Regions from separate parts of the Homo sapiens genome. Here all the other regions are linked to region 3. Evidence: promoter capture Hi-C in 16 types of primary human blood cells and fetal thymus (Javierre and others, 2016). All regions are on one chromosome and are shown on one strand. Each heading gives the region's core, a stretch centred on a gene start or on the middle of the fragment in contact. The rest is flanking DNA. Distances are from core to core; before and after follow the strand shown. Region 1 holds the start of MTFR2 (mitochondrial fission regulator 2). Region 2 holds the start of BCLAF1 (BCL2 associated transcription factor 1). Region 3 holds the start of HBS1L (HBS1 like translational GTPase).

Region 1 (3,225 bases), core at 433-2,932, 1.2 Mb before region 3:
ATTTAGGTATTTTATTCAACAAATAGACTGAATGCCTATTATATACCAGACACTCTTCTAAAGCACTGGGGAAAGATAGAGCATGGATCAAAACAACTTCCTGTTCTCCTGGAGTCTACAATTTTGTTTGGTGGTAGTGGAAGCGTAACTAAATATATATGATAAGTGCTATAGAGAAAAGCAAATTAGGGTTAGAATGGAACGAGATGCCCCGCTGGCCTGTAAGCTCCAGGAGGACGAGGACCTGCCCTCTCATTAAGGTATTTTCCGTGCTTAGAATGGTGTCTGCTACGTAGTAGATATCTATTATTGGTTGAATGAATAAGTGATGTTGACCATAGATAAATTAGTTCAAAACTTAGATTTTCAAATTATGTCAGTAGCAGGCACACATCTTAAATTGTTATATCACTCCAGTGCACGTCTTGCTGAAATTCAGAAGAGGAAGCTATTTCGTATGAAGCCAATAACCTCAAATCAGAAATGAAAACTGGGATATCACCTGTCATATCACTTGCCATCCTCGGCTAAGCCAGGAGAGTGTCCGGCCCAATATTCGGTAGCCTGGATACGTAGGTGTATTTAGTGAACGAAAGAATGAATCCTAGCCACTGCAAAGCTGCAAAACCCTCGGGGGTAGTGCTTGGCTTCTGCCAGTTCCACAAGTATTTTAATATTAGCTGAACAAATGAAATGACCAAAAAATAAATCGCGATTTTGTGTCAGATGAACTTGGGAAGGCGGATGCGCTTAGGGTCCGGCTGTAGCGAGTAAGACACTCCCTGCGAAGAGTTCTGTGGGGTACGAACTCCGGACTGCGAGTCCAGCTCACGAGTTTGTACCTAAAACCTTGCCCTGCGGGAGCGACGCTGTCCTAACGCGACCTGCCCTGCCCGTCAGCTCCTATTGGCTGACTCTCGGAAGACCCGCCTCTTGAGAAGGAAAAGCAGTCGCTTCCCGAATTGCCTGACATCATGCAATGACCAATCAGAAGCAGCGATCTTCAGTTTTGCCCAATGAGGCTGGTTACGGGTCCTGGCCCGCGGAGTTTGATTTCGTCCTGGGATGCGGAAGTAGCAGTCCTGTCATGCGGAAGTAGCAGTCCGGTCCTAGGGACTAGCAGGTGGGTTGGTTGGGCGCAGGAGGACGGGGGCGCGCTTCCCATAACATTACCCTGGCTGAGCGTGAGGCTCCAGGGCTGGGCACCGGGTTGACCTCTTATTCCTCGCTGAGGGCATCGTTACCGCCTGTGGCTGCAAGCCGAGGCGCGCGGGTGGAAACTGGGTCGAGGTCTGGGTAGACGTCTGAGCGATCTGCACAAGGAGTGGCGCAGTCTGGAATTTGATTGAGGATTCCTAACGCCCTCCGCTTGATGTTCTGGTGATTCCCGGGGGCTCGGCTTCGGAGGAAGGTGAGCAAGGCTACCACGCTGTGTTTGGAGAGCACCAGGAAGCTTGTGACCAAAGCGAGGGACGCGATCCGGCTCTGGTCACGGCCTGTTACTAGATGGGTGACCAAGTCACGTCCCGTATCTGGAATTCATGCTTCTCATTTTAAAAGAGTGAGGAGGGATGGGCATTCCACATGGCTGGGGAGGCCTCACAATCATTGCTGAAGGCAAATGAGTAGCAAAGTCACATTTTACATGGTGGCAGGCAAGAGGGCTTGTGCAGGGGAACTCCTGTTGATAAAACCATCACATCTCATGAGACTTATTCACTACCACGAGCATAGTATGGGGGAAGCTGCCCCCATGATTCAGTTATCTTCACCTGGCCCCACCCTTGACACGTGAGGATATGTGTGTGAGAAGAGCTACTGTTTATTTTTTTAAAAACTGAGTCGTCCCTTGCCTGCTTTCAAGGGTTGGCTAAACTCACCCATCTGCTAAGAGTCTCAGCCCAAAGCTTTCAGGAAAGAGCGAGCTTCGCTGTGGCATGTAACTTGAAGCCTTGCCTACTAAGTAGATGTCCAGTTTGTTGATTGGTCTCTATTAACTAGGCTCAAACATCCTACGAGGTTTTAATGTAATCTAACCAATTAATTGAAATTTCCTTTACAACCCTCTCTTTCCCCCAGACTTCCCCTTCCTTTCTTTTTCTCTGACTTAAAAGAATGCTGGCTAGGAGAAATTAGTTGACTGTGTCGTGTATCAAGAGGACTTTTCCAGGTTATGTAGTACAATTTGGCATTTATTTGTCAAGAGTAACATTTTCTAAAATTTTCCCCAAAGGCACCAAGAAACTGATAATGTTCCTTTGAATTGGCTTCTGTATTTGCTTCATCAATGTCTCTCATACTGAATATCTTAAGAGAGATGCTGGAATATTTTGGCGTTCCTGTAGAACAGGTAAATGTCGTTTTGGATTGGAATGGATCTGTTGTATTTGTTCTTGGGTTTCATTTTGAAAATGACTTATATGTAATCATTTGATTTAAGGCAAAGTTGTTGCTTCTTTTTAGTTGGAACAAAGGTGAGTTTGTAATAGTATAGCTTTGATGATTTGAGTTAGAAGAGGGATAAGATTATTGAGAACATATTTACCTGATAGGACAAATGCCAACAGAAGATACAAAGGAAGCAAAATATAGACATGAGCTTCACAGAATTACATTTATTGCACAGATACATTAAAACTTCTATTCAAGGTAATTTATAAACAAGTTCAATATTTAAAGCTCAATAAATCCAGAATAAATCTAATGGAAAGAGGATGATTTAGGCCTGAGAATTATAAGCTGTATTAGTCTGTTCTCATGCTGCTAATAAAGACATACCGGAGACTGGGTAATTTATAAAGGAAAGAGGTTTAATTGACTCACAGTTCCACATGGCTGGGGAGGCCTCACAATCATTGCTGAAGGCAAATGAGTAGCAAAGTCACATTTTACATGGTGGCAGGCAAGAGAGCTTGTGCAGGGGAACTCCTGTTTATAAAACCATCACATCTCATGAGACTTATTCACTACCACGAGCATAGTATGGGAGAAGCTGCCCCCATGATTCAGTTATCTTCACCTGGCCCCACCCTTGACACGTGAGGATAATTACAATTCAAGGTGAGATTTGGGTGGGGACACAGCCAAACCATATCATAAGCAAATCAAATTTTATCTACTTGTTGAAAATCTGCTGTATCTAAGACAATATGCTTGTTTCTGCAGGTAATACAGAGGAGTAATACATGGTTGTATTCATAATGCTTAAAATATGAGGAATAAGAA
Region 2 (3,667 bases), core at 315-2,814, 1.2 Mb before region 3:
TATCAAATGGATCTATTTCAAGGGAAGTCTGTATAACTTCCACTTACTAAAGGCTTTGTTCCAAAGGATCTCCTTTGTTACTACCTCATGTTATGTAAATAAAATCATAATCAGTTATATTGCCTCAAATAGATACTTCATTTTCAACACATGTGCAATAGAATTGCAGAGGGAGGTCGAAGATAATATCCTAGCCTGCAATTTGGGGTATTTTGAATAAATGAATAACAGCATGTATTGGGAGCGCCCCGACTCCCAATACATGCAGAATAGCAGACGTGTATTGAGCCCTTAGTTGTTTTTTTTTTAAATATAGTTCATTCACTCAACAAATATTTCTGAGAACCTGCGAATGCTTGGGACATCAGGGCACAACAAAAAGGCCAAGGATTTCTGTGTCCACATCCTGAGGTGGTAATGGGGTGAGGGACAGACTGTACAATAAAAAACCTACGATTCACTCCATGAAAATGTTGTCGTTTTTCTAGTTCAGCTGGTAAACTGGACTGTGAAGAAAGAATGCTCTAAGCACAGTGTTAAATTCACAACCAGGGCCCAATCCTAGTTTCGATTCACTCACTGACACCCTGGTTGCTAATTACAAGTCTGAAATCCATCAAGGTAGTTAACATCTCTAAACATCAAAGCAATAGCGGTTTTAGGCCCTAAGAAAGTGCAGCCCGGAGAAGTATTAATGCAAAATGTGCTACGGCTGTTATTTAAATTCTATTCAAATCGAATGTGGCTTGCCTATTTATAATCTGACTTATAATTCTGGACAACCAAGCTACGTTGGGCTGTGTTCCTCGGCTGCCACAAATCATCGTCACAGGCTGAAAGCTCAACTGCTTCGTGCTCTTTATTTTTTCATGCCTATGCCAACGTTGCCGATGTGGTAAAGCTGTCATCACGCCGCCAGAAGGGCGGCCTTCTTTGGCACGAGCAGCCTAAGAGGTTTCCGGCTGCTGCGGCTTGAGCTCCGATTTGATCAGACGCCACGAAAGGGATTTAGATCGTGGCCATTTTTCAACTAAGTGCGTCTGCCGAATTTAATAGCAAACCAAAAGCCACATTTTCTAATCTCCAGTTAGGCGTCCAAGAGGAAAAGTGGCGCTTGCTGGCTGAGGGAGCAGCGTGTCTGCAATTACAGCCACGTCTTGCCTCCTGGTCTTTTCCTCAGTGTGGGATTGTCTTTTTGTTTTTTGCCTGGTCTGAGCCGGCCCCACAGAAAGAACAGACCAGACGAGCTTACTGAGGTAAAACGCAGGGGCGGCGGTGAGGTCTAGGGGGTCTACTCAGAACGAGGCAGAGACACCAGCGAAAAGCGCCGTATGGCGAAGCTAACTCAGGCCTGACAAAACACCCACCCTACTCTACCGCCTCTCCGGCCAAGGCTGACGCTACGGGCCAGAGGGCGGAGCCGTCACATCTTCCCGCGAGACCAGCCACGCGACTTCCCAGAAGGCCGCAGGCAACATCTTAATAGCAGCCAGGAAGCCGGACCGGAGCGGAAGGGTGGGCGGGGCTTGCCCGCATATTTAGCGGCACCCGAGGCCACGCCCCAGATCGGAAGTGACGGAGACGTGCTAGCGCGTCGAAGGTAGCTCTATGGTTTTCCTCGCGTTCTTGAGTCGGGAAATGGCCGCTGTGTGGTTGCAACGGAGATAAATTCCCGGAACCGCGATTCGGCGTGTCAGGTAGGCCTCGCAATGTATTCAAGTTACTCCAGGGGCAGTGAAGACCGAGGACAGGCCATATTTTTGACTCTTTTGTGGGTGGTGTCGGGTTGGCGGCGAAAGGAGAACCAAGGAGACGTTGCGCCGTTATTTATGCGTTTTTTCGTTAGCTTCTCTCAGGTTTTCGAGGCACTACGGGCCGAAAAGGCCGGGCGGGGGCGCTGAGCAGTGCTAACGGCGGGCGCGCGCGTGTTTGCGAACCTGCCTGGAGACCCACAGCCCGCGCGGCCTCCCGTGCGCGTGCGCATATCTTCCTCTTCCACCCTTCCCCCATTTCTTCAGCCCGTACCTCTGCGCGCGCCCGACTGAACGCTCCGCGCACGCGCGCTCGTTCATTTTTCTCTCCCCCGCCTATGGCGCCGACGGCCGCTGGAGGTGCAACTTGTGTCCGCCTCTCATTGGCTGGGACTGCCACCTTTCTTCGTGGCCTGTGGGGTTTTGAGAAAATAACTGTGACCCGCAGCAAAGTGCGTTGAGTAGGTCTACCCCTTTTCGCGTGGTCTTTAAAACTGCCCTCCGGCTTCAGACCACCCGTCAGTTAATGCCTCGTTTTTGTGATGCTACTAGGTTTTAGTGCTCTGTTCTGCCTCTCGCTGCTGACCCTGGTTCTCTGGAGTTAATTTCGGTACCCGCGGCAACCTGCTGTTTTGAAGCGAGCGCGCGCTGTTGACTGGTGCTGGTTGCCTAGTTACGGTTCCCTAGCGAGAGGATTGGGTCTTAGCTGGTGGTTCTGAGCGTGGCCCTGCCCCATCCGGCTGAAAGTGCGGTTCTTCATGAGTACTAGCGAAGCCGAGTCTTTTCAAGTGATTCAGCCCATTTAGTCGTGTCAGAAATGTTGCAGCCACGATTGGTGGACAGCTGGTGTGAGAAATGGGTGGGAGTGGCGAATTGGACTTTGCCTTCATTTTAAATTCATGAGTTGGCTTGATTCGCTTTTAAGATTTATTTCTTCAGAATCAAGCTGAAGTACCAGCAGCTACTTTGCTACCTCAGACTTTTTTAAAAAGCATTTTAGAACTGGAAACAAATTAAGACTGAAGTTGAAAGCAAGTGTGGCTAACACTGACGAAAAAGATGAGCTACTTCAGACTTGTACCTCACTGCAACAGCCTCTTTTAAATTTTTTGGTGTTACAAAGCAAAACAAAATTTCTTGTTCCTCTTGTGAATTCTCATTTCAGTTCGACTTTAGTTGGAATGGTTAGGATACTGTTCAGGCAGTAAATAACCTTTACGTAGGAAAAACTGCTACAAGGCTTTTGTATTTTTGTTTGATCATGACCAATTCAGGATAGGTAATTTGATGGGAGGGAAAAAGTGGCCCCTCGGCGGGAGTTTGAGGCTGCTGTGAGCTGTGCTCGTCCCACTGCACTCCAGCGGGGGCAACAGAGCGAGACCTTGTCACTTAAAAAAGGTAGCTCATGGTAAACAACCTTGGAGCACCTTCTCTTAGTGATTTCATGTTTCAACCAGTACATTGTGGTGAATACTGAAATATCTTGTTTAATTCAGATAATTAAAATGGTGGCAAAGGAAGCTGTTTAGCCAGAGCCCTTCTTGACTTTGAGGAACAGTGGTAGTATAAGACTTGAAGACAGACGTGTAAAAAGTACTACTCACTGGTAGGCTCAGGTCTGGTTGATTGACTGATTCTTGAGACGGAATGTCGCTCTGTCGCCTAGGCAGGAGTGCAGTGGCCCAGTCTCGGCTCACTGCAGCCTCCGTCTCCGGGTCCAAGCGATTCTCCTGCCTCAGCCTCCCGAGTAGCTGGGACTACAGGCGCCCGCCACCACACCGGGCTAATTTTTGTATTTTTAGTAGAGACGGAGTTTCACAATATTGGTCTCGAACTCCTGACCTCAGGTGATCCACTCGCCTGGCCCACCCAAAGTGCTGGGATTACAGGGATGAGCCCCTGCGCCTGGCCTCGGT
Region 3 (3,573 bases), core at 995-3,494:
ACTCTTGACCTCAGGTGATCCACCCGCCTCAGCGTCCCAAAGTGCTGGGATTACAGGCGTGAGCCACGGTGCCCTGCCCACACCTTACAGAGTCCTGAGGGGAGTGGAACAATCCTAACTTTTTCTGAAGAAGTCAGTGAAGGCTTTGCCATTGAGGCTCTACTGTTTGAGATGCAGTAGATGCTGTGCAATATTTAGAGTTTTAAAGGAGTGCGTTATTGACGACCTAAGGGCAAATTATATATTATCTGACAGAAGTAACGTTTTCTTATTCATTGTTCCTGTAGTACTTTGCTTATGTGGTCTATAACTCATTCACTTCATACCTCAGTGAGTTGTAGTTAAGCTTGTAATTGACAATTACAGTGGAGTGGAAGCTGCCATTTGTATTTTAATAACACAATTTTTTTGGGGGGGTGCAGAGTCTCACTCTGTCTCCAGGCTGGAGTGCAGTGGCACAATCTTAGCTCACTGCAACCTCTGCCTCCCGGGTTCAAGCGATTCTCCTGCCTCAGCCTCCCGAGTAGCTAGGACTATAGGCACGCGCCACCATGCCTAGCTAATTTTTGTATTTTTAGTAGACAGGGAGTTTCACCATGTTGGCCAGAATGGTCTTGATCTCTTGACCTCATGATCCGCCTGCTTCAGCCTCCCAAAGTGTTGGGATCACAGGAGTCAGCCACCGCGCCCGGCCAATAACACAATATTTTTAAGCACCTACTATGATCTGTGATAAATCCTCTTATACGGATACATTATTCACAGCTCGCGAGTTAGTGTCTCTATCTCCTTTTTACAAAGAAACAGGCTGCAAAATAAAAATTACCTAAGGGTGTAAAATAATAAAAACACTTAAGCCATGTAACATTAGCAACTATCTCTATTTTTCTGTAAACTTTTATTTTGGAGCCACATTAAACAACTATTTTTGTAGTCAAACACATTCAAATGCATGAATAAATTACGTTCCAAGCCACTTACAAATATAAACTAAATTTGGATTACTCTTATTTCTTTCTATTGTGCATAGCAAAAAGCTGAGGAAGCTTTTAATTATCTCTAGAACTCAACATTTGCCTTTGATGTGAAGTATCATCATTTCAAAAACACAAGCTAAAACTGAAGTGGTGTTCAGTATAATGAGGTTGGTTTCTTATATAGCATTATTAACTTTATGTTCTGAGAAATGAGGACATTTAATAGCAGGTTATAGATTCATGCATCAACAACATTCAGCATTACCACCTAAGGCCAGTGCTATGTCTAAAAAGCTATATTTAATACTCGCAATGTTACACACAATTATGTCTTCAATGAATGTTCAGTGAATCCTTCTTTATGATGCTGATAAATATCGTCTATATAGCTAAAATCGTTTACATAGCTAAGGGCAAATCGCTGTTTACTAGGGATAGTAATGCCGAACGGAGTGAATACATGAAGTCGTAAATTATATGAATGCAGGGTGACCTAATATAGCCAGGGTCTCAATTTAATAATATATACCCGTTTAAAAATAGCCTTATTTCCTTCTCTAAAGCTTGGACTCTTTTTTTTTTTGAGATAAGGTCTCACTCACTTTGTCGCCCGGGCTGGAATGGAGAGGCCCGATCTCAGCTCACTGCAGCCTCGACCGCCTGGGCTCAGGGGATCCTCCCACCTCAGCCTCTTCAGTAGCTGGGACTACAGGTCTGCACCACAGGGCCGGCTAGTGTTTGTATTTTTTGTAGAGACGGAGCCTCGCTATGTTGCTCAGGCTGGTCTCGAACACCTGAGTTCAAGCGATCCGCCCTCCTAGGCTTCCCAAAGTGCTGGGATTACAGGAAGGAGCCACCGCACCGGCCTGGGCTAAATCTGATTCCAAGTTTACACAAGTTTGTTGAATGCCCACTGTGTGCTTAATGAAAGATCAAAGTTTGATAAAACAAGGTCCCTGCTCTTACTGAGCGCATAGCTTTCTCAGATTATCAGGAACCAAATTTGGAAAATAATCCAGAACGCTGGCGTAGGTAGCTCAAGGTTCCCCGCTTGCAACATTTAGTCCAAACCAGTCAATTCTAGGCGGCGGATTTCCCCATCCCCCTCCGTCGCCCAACCTTTGGGTGGGGCCACTCCCAAACGCTCCCTCCCCTCGTCCCGCCATGCACAGCAGTGCGCATGCGCCCTCAGGGAGGCGGACAGTGACCCTGAGGCATTGCCGTCGCGCGGTGCACAGCTAAGACGTCGCGCTTGCGCAGGCGCTCGGCGCAGAGGCCTGCGGGAAGCCAAGATGGCGCATAGGGGTTCTCCAGGCTGCAGTTGGCGCCTTATCAGTATCTAAGCGGAGTGTTTTGGAAGGAGTTAAGGGGCTGTGGCAAACGCCCTCTCCGCCGTCATGGCCCGGCATCGGAATGTTCGAGGCTATAACTACGATGAAGGTAGGTGGCAGGGTCATGCCGGGACGTTCTTTTCCCGGCTACAGCTGGGATCCTAGCCCGTTGGCATCCACTTCAATCTGTGAGTTTCTCGTCAGTGTTGCCCTGTCGGGATTGGGAGAGCCCCAGTTGGGGAATATAACAGGCCTTCTAGTGCTTTCAAATGCCGTCGTTTTTAAGTCATGATTTCTGCCCTCTGGGGTTGATTTTATTTGGGGAGGGGGAGGTGCTGCATAGCGTCATATGGGTAGGATATTGGTGAGGTTGAGATCCGGTGATATTTAGGCACGTAAGCATTATCACCTCTTCCATTGTTTCCTCCCATGTTGGGCACTAACGTGCCTGCTTCTAGCTCCTCTCTCCCAGATCCCCTTTGAGAAATGTCCATGAAACGTTGCTTATTTGTAAAACACAGATTGACTTAATACATTCAACGGACGTGTACCTGTGTTAGATTTACATGGTAAACCTTTTGTGTATGTCCATACATACCTAGTGCAGAATCAGTTTGCGCTAATTTATTTTTCAACGAATTTCAAAGTGGAAACTTAGGAGACGGTAGAAAAGACACATGTTAAAAAGGCCCAAAGAATGAGTCGATCAGATGGATCTTGAAGTTTATACTTAGTTCTTGGCTGGTAATGCTTGATATAAATGTATTTTGAAATGTAAATAAACGGCAGTACTAGAGGAAAGAGTGTATAGGAAAGGACTTTTTGATATTAAAAAATGAAATAAAAATGTCTGTATGAATGTTCTGTAGGAGTTAACAGGAGTTAGAATTATTTTTAGGAGGAGCACATCCCTCTTCATGCAGTAGATAACTATAGGCATCACCAAGCATCACATAAACTAAAAATATAAACAAAAATGAACTAATGCAGGAGAAGAATAAAGAACTATGCTTTACGAAGTGCAGAACATGTAGTGCTTAATATGTTGGTGATTGTCATTGGCACCCCAGTAGATTATTATAGAACATCAGTATGCTTTAACTAGAGTGAGGGCAGCTAACACCCTGTTCTCCATTTGGAACCTGTGACCTCAGTCCGTCTAGAACATGTGAATTTTCTGGTGGTTACTTTAGAATGGAGGCCCTTTTAAATAAATATTGCAGTGGATGGTATTGCATGTGGACCATTGTCACCTAAGAAATGAC

The links. The method cuts DNA at HindIII sites, captures the fragments that hold promoters and counts their contacts. A CHiCAGO score of 5 or more calls a contact.
Region 1: a fragment that was not itself captured here is called in contact with the fragment with the promoter of HBS1L in region 3 in 1 of 17 cell types (fetal thymus); the score reaches 5.0 in fetal thymus.
Region 2: a contact is called between the fragment with the promoter of BCLAF1 here and the fragment with the promoter of HBS1L in region 3, in 2 of 17 cell types (total CD8 T cells and fetal thymus). The highest score is 5.9, in total CD8 T cells.

The regions. Positions count from the first base shown.
Region 1 is chr6:136,248,162-136,251,386 of GRCh38, reverse strand. It overlaps MTFR2 (mitochondrial fission regulator 2), which reads left to right and starts at 1,076. Exons shown (of 8, transcript NM_001099286.3): 1 at 1,076-1,411; 2 at 2,234-2,350. The coding sequence starts at 2,288. RefSeq lists enhancers at 607-756, 1,407-1,626. The HindIII fragment of the contact is 454 bases long and covers 1,456-1,909 here.
Region 2 is chr6:136,287,743-136,291,409 of GRCh38, reverse strand. It overlaps BCLAF1 (BCL2 associated transcription factor 1), which reads left to right and starts at 1,564. Exons shown (of 13, transcript NM_014739.3): 1 at 1,564-1,697. LOC124901408 (a long non-coding RNA gene) reads right to left here and starts at 1,396. Exons shown (of 4, transcript XR_007059784.1): 1 at 1,253-1,396. RefSeq lists enhancers at 869-988, 1,309-1,528, 893-2,092, 2,039-2,158, 1,577-2,173 and 2 more. The HindIII fragment of the contact is 10,003 bases long and covers 1-3,667 here.
Region 3 is chr6:135,053,493-135,057,065 of GRCh38, reverse strand. It overlaps HBS1L (HBS1 like translational GTPase), which reads left to right and starts at 2,244. Exons shown (of 18, transcript NM_006620.4): 1 at 2,244-2,417. The coding sequence starts at 2,375. It overlaps LOC124901405 (a long non-coding RNA gene), which reads right to left and starts at 2,173. Exons shown (of 2, transcript XR_007059775.1): 1 at 1,580-2,173. RefSeq lists an enhancer at 2,036-2,085. The HindIII fragment of the contact is 2,164 bases long and covers 1,543-3,573 here.